Regions from separate parts of the Homo sapiens genome. Here region 1 is linked to region 2. Evidence: promoter capture Hi-C in 16 types of primary human blood cells and fetal thymus (Javierre and others, 2016). All regions are on one chromosome and are shown on one strand. The core of a region is centred on a gene start or on the middle of the fragment in contact, and the rest is flanking DNA. Distances in the headings are between cores, read along the strand shown. Region 1 holds the start of TOMM34 (translocase of outer mitochondrial membrane 34). Region 2 holds the start of UBE2C (ubiquitin conjugating enzyme E2 C).

Region 1 (5,878 bases), core at 3,379-5,878, 850 kb after region 2:
GATGAATAGGAATTGGGTAAACATTTTTGAAAATTAAATACCAAATTACCATTACACAATGCCAAACAGACCTCCTTTGTCCCCTTCCCAGGATTTTTCCAGAAGATGGACTCACATTATGATGGCCCCCTTTTTCCGCAGAGTGTTCCCAATGAAAATTTCTGAAATGATGGGAATGTTCTAAATATGTGCTGTCCGAAATAGTAACCATTAGCCACATATGGCTATTGAGCACTTTAAATGTGGCTAGCATAACTGAAAGGCCACATTTTTATTTAAATTTAAATTTAAATAGCAAACCGTGGCTAATCATAATAATAGCTTAAGAGAGAAATGGTGAGCAGGGTTACTGGGAGAGGTATTTTCCTATAAGCTCTGGATATACAGTTGACCTGGGAACAACAAGGGTTTGAGCTGCATGGGTCCACCAATACAACCCTTGTTTTGTTTTGTTTTGTTTTCAATAAATACAGTCAGCCCTCTCTATCAGAGGGTTCCACATCCACAATGAAACATGGTTGGAAAATACAGTATGGGATGTGAAACCTGTGTATAGGGTGGGCTGACTTTTCGTTTCCATAGGTTCTGCAGGGTCAACTATAGTACATGAGTATACTCACATTTTAGTATCCTAATAGATCCTCAAACCAACACCTGGCAGAAAATGGGGAACAATTGCATAACAGTATTCAAGGGACTGGGTATGATGGCTTGCACCTGTAATCCCAGCACTTTTGGAGGCCAAGGCAGAACAGGAGTTCGAGACCAGCCTGGGCAATATGGTGAAACCCCTTTTCTACAAAAAACTTAGCCAAGCATGGCATATTTGTGTAATGCCATTTGCATGACCCACATGGTCACCCTGGACCCCGTGGATCAGGCCCTGCCTGGTGCCACCACCGCCACTTCTGTGCCAGGCCCCCAGTGTGATGCAAGTTGCATGATGCTCTTTGCTGTAGTGCCTTTTAATGGCATAGCTTTGGCAGGTTTGGAGATGTTCAGAATAGGCAAATCCTGTGGTGGATTTGTGGTTGTCTAAGGCCCTGGTGGAAGGGAGCATAGGTGAATTGGAGGGGATGATTAAAAGGTGTGAGATTTCATTTTGGGGTGATGAAAATGTTCTAAAATTGGTTGTAGTAATGGTTATACAACTCTGAATATACTAAAAGGCATTGAATTGTACACTTTCAATATGTGAGTTATATCTCAATAAAGCTATTTTACAAAAAAAGACACCTCTTCCCAGAAGACTTCTCTGTTCCCTTGTCCCTCCCCTGACCCTCTCATCTGTCCCTCCTTCAAATTATTTCAGTACTGTTTTTATCAGTCCTGGCATTTATAGGAAGCACTGCAGGAAGGGATTTCCAGGTATTGACTGCTGTGTAAGAAACCACCCCAAAGTTTATAGGCATAGAACAACAGTCTTTTTTTCTTCTCAGAAATCTACAATTTGAGCATGGCTCAGCAGGAAGGCTCATCTCTGTTTATGGTGTCAATCAGGATCAATCAGCCCTGTCCAAAAGGCATTTCACACAGCTGACAGGTTGGTGCTAGCTGTTGGCTGGAAGCTCACTTGGGTCTGAAGGCTAGGGGCGTCTCCATTTTTCTTGAGCTTCCTCACAAAATAAAGCCTGGGTTCTAAAGCATGTTCCCGAGGGAGAGCCAAGTGGGATGCTGCAGTGCCTTTTAGTGGAAGATACTTAATGTCATTACCACTGTGGAGGGGGGCCACAAAGGCCCACCCAGTTTCAAGGAGAAGGGATGCAGACTCCACCTCCTCATAGGGCAGTGGCAAGGGTCTGGAAGAGCTTGGGGAACCAGAAATATTATTGGGGCCATTTTTGGAAAATAAAATTTGCCACAGCTACACTTATCCGATAAACCACTCAGGAAATATTCAGCTGCAAGCAAGTGAAAACATCTAAATGTTGGCTTAAAGCACCATGGCATTTACTGTTTGTTTTGAGACAGAGTCTCGCCGTATTGCCCAGGATGGACCACAGCAGCCCAGTGATCTGGGCTCACTGGATTCAAGCAATTCTCCTGCCTCAGCCTCCTGAGTAGCTGGGATTACAGGCGCATGCCACCACGCCCAGCTACTGTTTGTATTTTTAGTAGAGATGGGGTTTCACCATGTTGGCCAGGTTGGTCTCAAACTCCTGACTTCAAGTGATCCGTCCACCTCGGCCTCCCAAAGAGCTGGGATTACAGCTGTGAGCCACCACACCTTGCCTTTATTGTTTATTAATAAGCTAATAAGTCAGCAGTTGATTCAATGACTCAGCAATATCTATTTCATTTTTTCCCCTCCCATCCTACTCAGCATGTTGGCTTTTCATACTTGTGTTTATTGCCTCATGGTTGCAAAATGACTGCCACACCTCCAGGTATCATATCCTTAACCCAGCACTACCCAAAGCAGAAAAAGAGCAAGAATGGCTACTTGACCCAGTACCTCTCTGTTATGGGGAGGGAAACCTTTCCCATAAACACTCAGCAGACTCTTTTTTTTTTTTTTTTTTTTTTTTGAGACGGAGTGTTGCTCTGTCGCCCAGGCTGGAGTGCAGCAGTGCAATCTCAGCTCACTGCAACCTCCACCTCCCGGGTTCAAGCTATTCTCCTGCCTCAGCCTCCTGAGTAGCTGGGACTACAGGTGCGTGCCACCACCCCAGCTAATTTTTTGTATTATTAGTAGAGATGGGGTTTCACTGTGTTAGCCAGGATGGTCTCGATTTCCTGCCTTGTGATCCACCCGCCTCGGCCTCCCAAAGTGCTAGGACTACAGATGTGAGCCACTGCGACCAGCCTCAGACTCCCTTTTATCTCATTGCCCAGATCAGCATCACATGTGCATCCCTTGATGAATCACTGGCAAGAGAAAATGACATTTTTCTAATTGGCTTAGAGCAATCCTGATTCACTTCCCCAGGCTGGGAGAGTCTCAGGCAAAATTCAGGCTCCTGGAAGCAAAGATGGAAGTCACTGAGTAGCCAGCCAGCAGCATGGGCCTCATCTGGTTTTCCCACCACAGTCAGTGTTCATCCTTGGTCGGGGCAGAGGGCAAGGGGAAGCATTTCAGATGGAACAGCCATCCAGCCCTCAGAAAGCTTATAGTCTGGTGGAGTTAAGTGTATGCAGATCATTATAACTGAATTCCTGAAGGTAGAGACTAGATCTTTATCAATCAATGACTTTTATTGGATGCCAGACCCTATTAGGGTCTTGGATAAACAAAGATAAAAAGGACCCACTTCCTGCCATTAAAGACCTCGCAGTGTTTAAGGAAAACTACAAACTGGCAATCAAAGGGTGACTAATGCAAAGTTAGGGATAAAGCTAGAGACCAATAGGGAGCAAAGGGAGCATAGTGGGGGGTGGGGAGGGGGCTGGAAGCAGGAAAGGCTTTCAGAGAAGATGATGTTTGAATGGAATGTTATAAGTTAATTCAGGATTAGGCAGGAGAAAAAGTATTTAGAAAAAAAAATCCAGGAGAAGGAGATAACAAGCAAAGGCTAGGAAGCAAGAATTTAGTGTGTGTAGATAGCAATGCGTGGGACATAGAGTCGTCAGATGAGGCTGGAGATAAATTGAAGTCACACTCTGTGAAAGATCTTCATCCATTCTGAAAGCTGATCATACGAATTGGGTCATTCTTGTCATATCCAACTAAGACAGAATTGAAAAGCCAGGGGAACAAATACTCAGGGCATATAACATTGCTCCAAAAAAGTAATTTTTTGCAAGCCTGGCTGCTAAAACTGCCTGCTGTAACCTAAAACCAGTTTTATCTAATAGCTACTGAAACAGCCTGCTACAATTCTGAGTTTTATCCACCACTATCACTTACCAATCAAAGCTTGCCAGCTCCCCAAGAAGCTGATAAACCCCCACTTTACTAGTGCCTGTAAACTTCCTTGAAGAGCAATATGTAACATTTCTGTTTTATAAAAATCTCCAAACCTTCTCTTTGTTCTTCTGACATACCAAAGACAACCTGGTCTGTGTGTAAGCCCTGAATTGCAATTCTTGATTGCCAAATAAAATATTTAAACTTTAGAGATTCATCTCTATATGTTGACTTTGACACCATCAATCCACCTGTGCATTAATTTATTAAATAAATATCTATAGAGCACTAGGTACCAGGTACTTTCTAGCCTTGGAACCTTTGCACTTACCATCCCTCTGGCTGGAACAGCATTCCCTAAATCTTGTCTGGTCTCAGCTCAACTATTACCCCCTGAGAAAGGCCTTCCTTCATCCCCTTATTTAAAATAGCCCACACGTGGTCACTTTCCATTGCATTATCCTGTTTTGTTTTCCTTACAGCACTAATCACATGAAATGAGAGTCTTCGTTTGCTTATCAGTTAATTGCCTGTGGGGACCCCACTAGGACATAATCTCCCTGATAGCGGGGCCAGCCTCCTTCCCTGCGTCATCCACGGCGTTCTAGCAACTCAGGGAGCCCAGAGCATGCTGCCGCCCCGCGTGCAAGGGAGCCTAAGTTCCAAACCGAGCACGCGCAGAGGGCGGGACGCTCCGGGCCTCCAGGTCTCGCAGGCCCCGCCCCCTCGCCGCGGGTTCGCTGTTGGGCGGAGATATTCGCCGCCGGCGCTTGCGCCCGGAAGGTGTGCCGCACCACACGGGGGAGGAAGGAAGGAGCTCCCAACTCGCCGGCCTGGCCACGGGATGGCCCCCAAATTCCCAGACTCTGTGGAGGAGCTCCGCGCCGCCGGCAATGAGAGTTTCCGCAACGGCCAGTACGCCGAGGCCTCCGCGCTCTACGGCCGCGCGCTGCGGGTGCTGCAGGCGCAAGGTACGACCCCGGCCCCCATCTCACCTCCGGGCCTGCTCCTCCAACTCCCGCAACCACCGCCCGGGCCTCGCGCGGCGGCCAGCAGTCCTGCCCGGCCCTCCCACCCTTCCAGCCCCTTCCGACTCCGGCATCCTACCAGAAACTTCCTCGGCCCTTTCTTTCCACCTGCTTGTTAACTGCCCTGTTGGCCCCCATCCTAAGTTATTTAGGCCTCGTTCTGAGCCCTGAGAAGAAAGCTAAACCCTCCTCCCCCGCAGCAATTCATTTTTCAGTTAGTATTTGTTGAGTAGCTGTTATATACCGCCTGTGTAACAAGACACAAAAAGTCCCTTCTCTCAAGGACAGCGCATTCTTGTGGGGGCGGTGGGGAGGACGTGAGTCTTAAGCGAGTCAGTAAGTAAACGAGACCTGTGGGATAATCAGGGTTAGGAAGAAGACAAATAGGGTGATGTGATAGAGTTGACTGGAGTGGGAGATCAAGGGCAACATCTGTAAAGAAGTGATATTTGAGGTGATGTCTAAATGATGAGAAGCCAAGCGCACAAGGTTTTCGGTCCTGAAGTGAACTGCAATGAGAAAGGCCCCCCCTCCAAGACGATATAAACATGGTGTGTTTCAGGGGTCAAAGCATAGTGAGCCAGGGCAGGGAATAGGAAGACATGAGGTCAGTTAGGAAGGCAGACCCTTATTTATTGTGGAGGTGTTGTAAACTCTGCTAAGGAGTTCGGATTTCATGCCAAACTGGAAGCTTGGCATGAAAGCTGCTGGATGGGAAGCTACTGGAGAGTTTGAAACAGAAGAATAGCATATTCTTACCAGTTCTCCCAGCGTCCAGCTTTCGTCAGCATACCGCAGACCTTTGCCCAAAGCCCCTTCTCCAGGGTGACTTAATCAGAAACCCTCATTGGTTAAAGCCTTGACTTTTGAAAGGAGCCTTGGATCCTGGTTTCTGTGAGTCACCGTTCAGTACCTATTTCCCTTTGCCGCCTTCCTTTTTTTCCTTTTCTTGGCTAGCATCTCTTGAGTGATTTACCATGTGCTAGACATTTTAGACACGATC
Region 2 (5,962 bases), core at 782-3,281:
ATGTAAACATCTAAGATAGGCAGCCCTGCTTTAAACCCACCCTTTATTGCACAGAGGGAAAGAACAAGGCCACATGGCTCAGAGAATGTAAACAGTCACAGGAGGAGTGTCTTGCTCCGCCAAAGGCTTGAAGCAGAGCTCGCACTTGGATCTCACTTCCCACCTTTCCCCAGACTCACTCACCCATCCCAGCCCTACACTTACTGTTCCAGCTGCTCCATGGATGGTCCCTACCCATTTGAAAAGGTTGTCTGATTCAGGGAAGGCAGAAATCCCTTTATCGCCAGACATCTGGGGAGAAAACACATTTGTTGGAATGTGGAGTACACTTTTGGGCATAGCAAAGGTCAGTGGGTGAGCTTTCCCCTTAATTTTATATATATATATATATATATATATATATGCTCACATACACACACACACATATATATGTATACACACACACATATATATGTGTATATATATGAGATATAGATGGGGTTATGCCATCTCTACTAAAAAATATATATTTACATATATATATATATAGAGAGAGAGAGAGAGAGATTGAGAGAGAGAGATAGACAGAGACAGACACACACACACACTCTGTCGCCCAGGCTAGAGTGCAGTGGTGCGCTCGGCTCACCGCAACCTCTGTCTCCACGGTTCAAATGATTCTTGTGCCTCAGCCTCCCGAGTAGCTGAAATTACAGGCATGCACCACCATGCCTGGATAATTTTTGTATTTTTAGTAGAGACAGGGTTTTGCAATGTTGGCCAGGCTGGTCTCGAACTCCTGACCTCAAGTGATCCGCCCACCTTAGCCCCCCAAAGTGTTGGGATTATAAGGTGTGAGCTACCGCGCCCAGCCTCCCCTTAATCTCATCACTCTGATCCAAAATAAAGCAACCAAATTCATAGGCTAGAAATACCAAGAAGGGCGGGGAGTTGGGTGTGGGTAAAGCTTGGTTGGGGCTAGGAAGTAGGGACACACTGGATAGGGAGGGTCTTGTATGACTTCAGGGAAGTGTTCGAGATAACTTCGTGTGGGGGGATGGAATTGGGAGGAGGGACTGCTGGAAGAAATGGTGTAGGTGGGGTGTATGAACTTCTTTCCCAGGAGGGAGCAAATTACATTACCCCTATGTCTAGCAAAAAAGCTGACGGAAAAAAGGAGGCTACTGAAAATTGGATGGAAGGCTGGGGTTCTGGGCACTTAATCACTCACCATGAGGGTCATCAGCTCCTGCTGTAGCCTGAAAAAAGAGTATTCGGGGTTACCTGGGAGTCTGGATGGGCCAGGCCTCCAGACGGTGCATCTTCTCCCACCTGAATCTCAGGGGGAGCCGTCATGGAGGCTCCCCACATCACCAAGGTCAGGCTCAGCTCAGGGTATACTCACCAGATCCACAGGACGATCCTAGCGAGTCCTCACCCTCCCTAATTCCAGACTCCCTCGGGATGATTCTGGCATGTTCTTAATTCCCCAGGCTTTAGCATCTCTTCCTTGCCCGACTCAACTTCTCCCTTCCCCTGTCTCGGCCAAGTCACGAGGGTCCTTGAGCGTCTTCATCTAGGCCCACCAGGGAAGGAGTCTGGCAGCGCCCCTACCCTCCCATTCTCCTTCGGGAGAGTCTCAAAGAGCGGTCTGAGCTCCTGGCCTGTCCCCCATCTCTCGAATCTCACCCGCGCAAGGAGGTGGGAGTCCCGGAAGTCTCCGCCCTCGACACCCATGCCCAGGGGAATGCCAGGCCCCGAGCTCCTGGTGTGTTCTCCTGCACCCGCAGATCTCCCGCTCCAGGAGGTGGCGGCGGGGGGTGGTCCTAGAAATCTTTGCTCTGGGTACCAATGCCTAGGGCATGGCAGGCCCGGCGAGTGGTAGGCCGCATCACTCACCTTTTGCCCACCGGACCCCGGGCGGCGCCCCCGCTCGGCTCAGCTCCTTTACGGGCGGCGGCGACGCTAGTGGCGGCTGGGTCGCGGTTTTGGGAAGCCATCCGGGCGGCGTTGGCAGAGAGACAGGAACTCGGAGAACACGACTGCAACTGCAGGACTGCGGGCCCGCCCGCCCGCGTTTGAATTGTAACCCTCTGGGGGCGTCGACCAATCAATGGCTCGCTTGGGTTTGATCCAGCCAATGAGACGCTCCGGAGCGCTCTATTGCTGCGCCACTGCTAGACCTACCCACTGGCGCACCGCTATTGGGCGGCAGAATCCCGCTTCTGACAACCGATTGGTAGATGATGCTGCCATTAACTAACGAATCCGTAGCGAATTGGTGGCCGTTGGAAAACGCTAACCATTAAAGGGCCAAGAAAACGTCCACGTGGGATGAACCCCTCCTTCTGGCTACACGTCTTACTCCGCGTGGGAACACTCGGCACGCCCAGCCTTGATCCAATTTCCCTCGGGCAGGGAGTGCCTCCAATCCTGCAGCACTGGTACCCTCCCACCATTATAATCGCCTGGGCACCTTTGCTGCGTCCTAAGTATCTGAAAATCCCAGCGAGGGGAAAAACTAAAGGCTGATGGCCAGAGCAGCAGGCTCCCTATTAGAAAACATAGGTCCATACATCTCCGCAGAGATGACAGAAATAAAAAAAGGCAACATTGGTTCAGGCTGGTCGCAGTGGCTCACGTCCGTAATCCCGAACACTTTGGAAGGCCCAGGCAGGAGGATCACTTGAACCCAGGAGTTCGAGACCAGCCTGAGCAACAGGATAGGGAGACCTGTCTCTACTTAAAAGAAAAAAAAAAAAAAAGAAAAGAAAAAAAAAAAAGGCTGGTGAGGTGGCACGAGCCTGTAGTCCCAGCTACTGGCGAGGCTGAGGCGGGAGAATCGCTTGAGCCAGAGGCTGCACTCTAGCCTGGGCAACAGAGCAAGACTGTCTTCAAACAAACAAAAACCCCAACAACACAGGTTCATATCCTGTATATCCTACCTCCCCAGTGGGTAGTGTGTAACCTTGGGGCGGGTCCTTTAGTATCTTAACCTGTAAAATGGGAGCAATAAAAGCCAACTCTATTTTTCATATGATCTGTCATCAAACTCCATCGCATTCTGCCATGTCCTTACATTAGCTGGGTAAGGAAACTACAAATGGGCAAAGGGAAGACGGGCAGGGTACATGGTGCTCCCAGGTTGGTCTTATCAAGCCTGGCTCTATACTGTTATGGGTGAGGGTTATCTCGTCCTTTTTTCCTACACCCACTTCTAGAGCCCTTGATGTTCTGTCAATTCCCACAAGGTAGAGGGCACAGCAGGTTCACCATCTGTGTTTACTACAAACTGTTTAATTGTTTCTTATCCCAATAACTTTACAAATATAGAACCACATGCTAGTCTGGGGGTGCTGTGCAGTGAGTCACTACAAACTCGCTCAGGCACAGCTTAATGCCGCTGAGATCCATCTAGGAGCAGTCCCAGCGGTGGCCTCAGCCACGTGAGGAAGAGGGCTTTGGAGGAGGGCTGCCAAGTGTGGCCAGGGGACCCGGCCTCAGGTCTGTGGAGGTGCTTCAACAGCACGATGCTCATTCTCTGTCCGTAGTGTCTCCATATACTTTCTCATCTTCTCCACCATCCAGGAGGGTAGGACAAAGGATTTCAATTCCTCTAGCTTCAGATCCAGGCATCCTCTGGAACAGACATTGAAGAGAGAAGTTGGGGGAAGTGAGGATGTAGGCCCTGCCTCATTCTAGGGGCTATTTGGAGGCAGGGAGAGGAGAAGGGGCAGGAGACCCACTGGTTTTACCTGTAATCATCACTGGCCGCAAGGTCCCGGATGTCCTCCTCGATGAGGAGGTAGGCCTGAGGCAGGAGCAAGGGAGAGTGGTCATTGCCTGATTCATTTCACTCCAACTCAGTAACACTTCATTAAACATCTGTTTAATGTAAGGCCTGCTACTAGGTGGAAGCGGGGGATGCGGTTTACAATTTAGTACGGAAGAGTAAGTGGGGAGGGATGGGAATGGTTCCTTGAGACAATCTTTTACTACAGTAGATGCTTCATGGATGGGAGAGTAGGGACTGGTGACTTATTTATAGCCTTCTCTTTTAAAAAAGGACCCATTTCTCTCTTGAATGGTGTGGTGAAAATTAAGAAAAAAAAAAAAAAAAGAAAAAAAGAAAAAAAAAGGGATCCACCATTGCTCCTACACCTTTTGGTTAAGATCAAGTATACGAAAGGACCCAAGGTGGGTTATAACAAAATGGCAAGAAAGCCAGCAAAATATATATGGAAACAGGAAATCAGGAAGAGGAAACCATGTGCTCCCTCTGAGGACAAAGATAACTTGGTTTTGAACTTTGTGGCAAAATGGAAAACATGATAAACTGCTCTGCTGTCTAGTAATTGGCCTGTATTGTACTGGGGCCTGTAGAAATGCTTTGTCACAATGCCTCGGTCTACAGTGGGTGAGGGCCCTTTTGTGAACTTAACATATAGGAAGAGATATTCATCATATTAGAAAGTCTTCTGTGGGAGACTTTCTAATGTTAGGGTCAGGAATAATTGTGTATTCCTTGAGTAATTTGTCTACATCTTATGGGCACTATGAACCATAACAGATCAGGTGTCCATGAGTGGGGCCTACAGCTGAATTTGCCAACATCTGTAGAAGTGCACAGGTCTCCCAGGTCAGCAATATAAAAAACACTTTTTTTTTTTAAAGAACTACTTTTACTGGTGGCTTAATTTTAGGTCCTGCCCCCACCCCCTACCATCTATTTCTTATTTATGTAATGTTGCATTTTATGTGCATGAAGCTTACCTGAAATCTTTTTTGAAGTAAAGCATAGGCATAAATAGAGTAGTAAAATAAAATAAAAGGTAGCTCTCACTGCCAGAAAGGAGATGGCATATCAGTTTGTAAGGCACTTAGATTCTAAAAGGAGCAGTACCTGTGGTGGGAGTGAGTGAGTCCTCAGGTGGGGGACATTGTGTGTGATGGACAAAGCCCTCAACAATAGTTTTTGAACACATGCAATGATGATTTTCCTAAGGTTGCTGTTTCATATGATCTGAGAACTCTTCAAGTAGAGGTAAATCTGGAAGGGGCTGCCAAGTGTGCAAACACATTTCATTGCTAACTCCTACTGACAAGGGTTGCTGCCTCAAGTACTGTGTTGAGAAAAGATTCTATAGCTGTGTCTGGTGGAAGAGTGATCAATGAGTGAAATCTGTCAGTGGGTGCAGTAGTGGGAAAAAGTAGTACTGTGTGTCTTATACCTGCTATTCCTATGGACAGCTAATAGTATCCAAATATGTGATCTTGGAGGCATGAGGTAAAAGTGTGAGGGGGCGGAAGGGAGACCTAGGGATAGGGAAGGGAACCTGAAGATTACAATTTGCTCTTCAGCATGAAGAAATAGGCCTTATAAGTCTCTCTTCTCACACATTGGTGAGGCTTTGGAAGTCAGATTTGGAGGTAGGCTGTCACCCACAGCCAAAATCCTGGTTCCCAGGTGGGGTGGGTCACTGGCAGTGGCACAAATGAATAATGCTTACCATCTTGCCCCCTGTTGCCCGCATGTGATGCTGCTCAGCCAGCCAGTGCTTATCCTGGGGGTCAGCTGCATACTGTAAGGAATGAAGTTGTAAGAAAATTAGCCTCGGGTAAGGGGCTTTTCTCATTTGGTCCCAGAGCATACTCTTGGCCCTTGAGCAGTTCTTACCAAAAGTCCTTGTCTCCAAGCGTGGTGGACTTAGAGGGCTCACTAATCTCTTCAGAGAAAGCTAAGCCAACCCCGAGGGCAGACCATGGGACCCAATTCCCAGAGACTTAGTATACTCCCAATCCCCACCCCCTTCTCACAACAAAGCACCCCGGGCAACTGGTGGGACTGATAACTATTATTTTAGAGCTTCCTCTTTTTAAAAAATGATCGGAGGTGGCTTATAACGTCTGTAATTATTATGGTGACCATAATAAAACAAAAATCGGGACACCTCATGTACTCTCGGACGCATAATAGCATCAT

The links. The method cuts DNA at HindIII sites, captures the fragments that hold promoters and counts their contacts. A CHiCAGO score of 5 or more calls a contact.
Region 1: a contact is called between the fragment with the promoter of TOMM34 here and the fragment with the promoter of UBE2C in region 2, in 1 of 17 cell types (erythroblasts). The highest score is 7.7, in erythroblasts.

Annotation. Positions count from the first base shown.
Region 1 is chr20:44,959,147-44,965,024 of GRCh38, reverse strand. TOMM34 (translocase of outer mitochondrial membrane 34) reads left to right here and starts at 4,628. Exons shown (of 7, transcript NM_006809.5): 1 at 4,628-4,818. The coding sequence starts at 4,692. It overlaps LOC124904912 (a long non-coding RNA gene), which reads right to left. Exons shown (of 2, transcript XR_007067599.1): 2 at 5,488-5,878. STK4-DT (STK4 divergent transcript) reads left to right here. Exons shown (of 3, transcript NR_038341.1): 3 at 1-1,231. RefSeq lists a silencer at 4,370-4,449 and enhancers at 4,680-4,769, 4,780-4,829, 5,610-5,699. The HindIII fragment of the contact is 1,710 bases long and covers 3,859-5,568 here.
Region 2 is chr20:45,808,713-45,814,674 of GRCh38, reverse strand. UBE2C (ubiquitin conjugating enzyme E2 C) reads right to left here and starts at 2,031. Exons shown (of 6, transcript NM_007019.4): 1 at 1,879-2,031; 2 at 1,211-1,238; 3 at 205-291. The coding sequence starts at 1,979. DNTTIP1 (deoxynucleotidyltransferase terminal interacting protein 1) reads right to left here. Exons shown (of 13, transcript NM_052951.3): 11 at 5,490-5,561; 12 at 3,735-3,790; 13 at 3,257-3,618. The coding sequence ends at 3,480. RefSeq lists a silencer at 2,039-2,228 and an enhancer at 4,256-4,425. The HindIII fragment of the contact is 3,801 bases long and covers 949-4,749 here.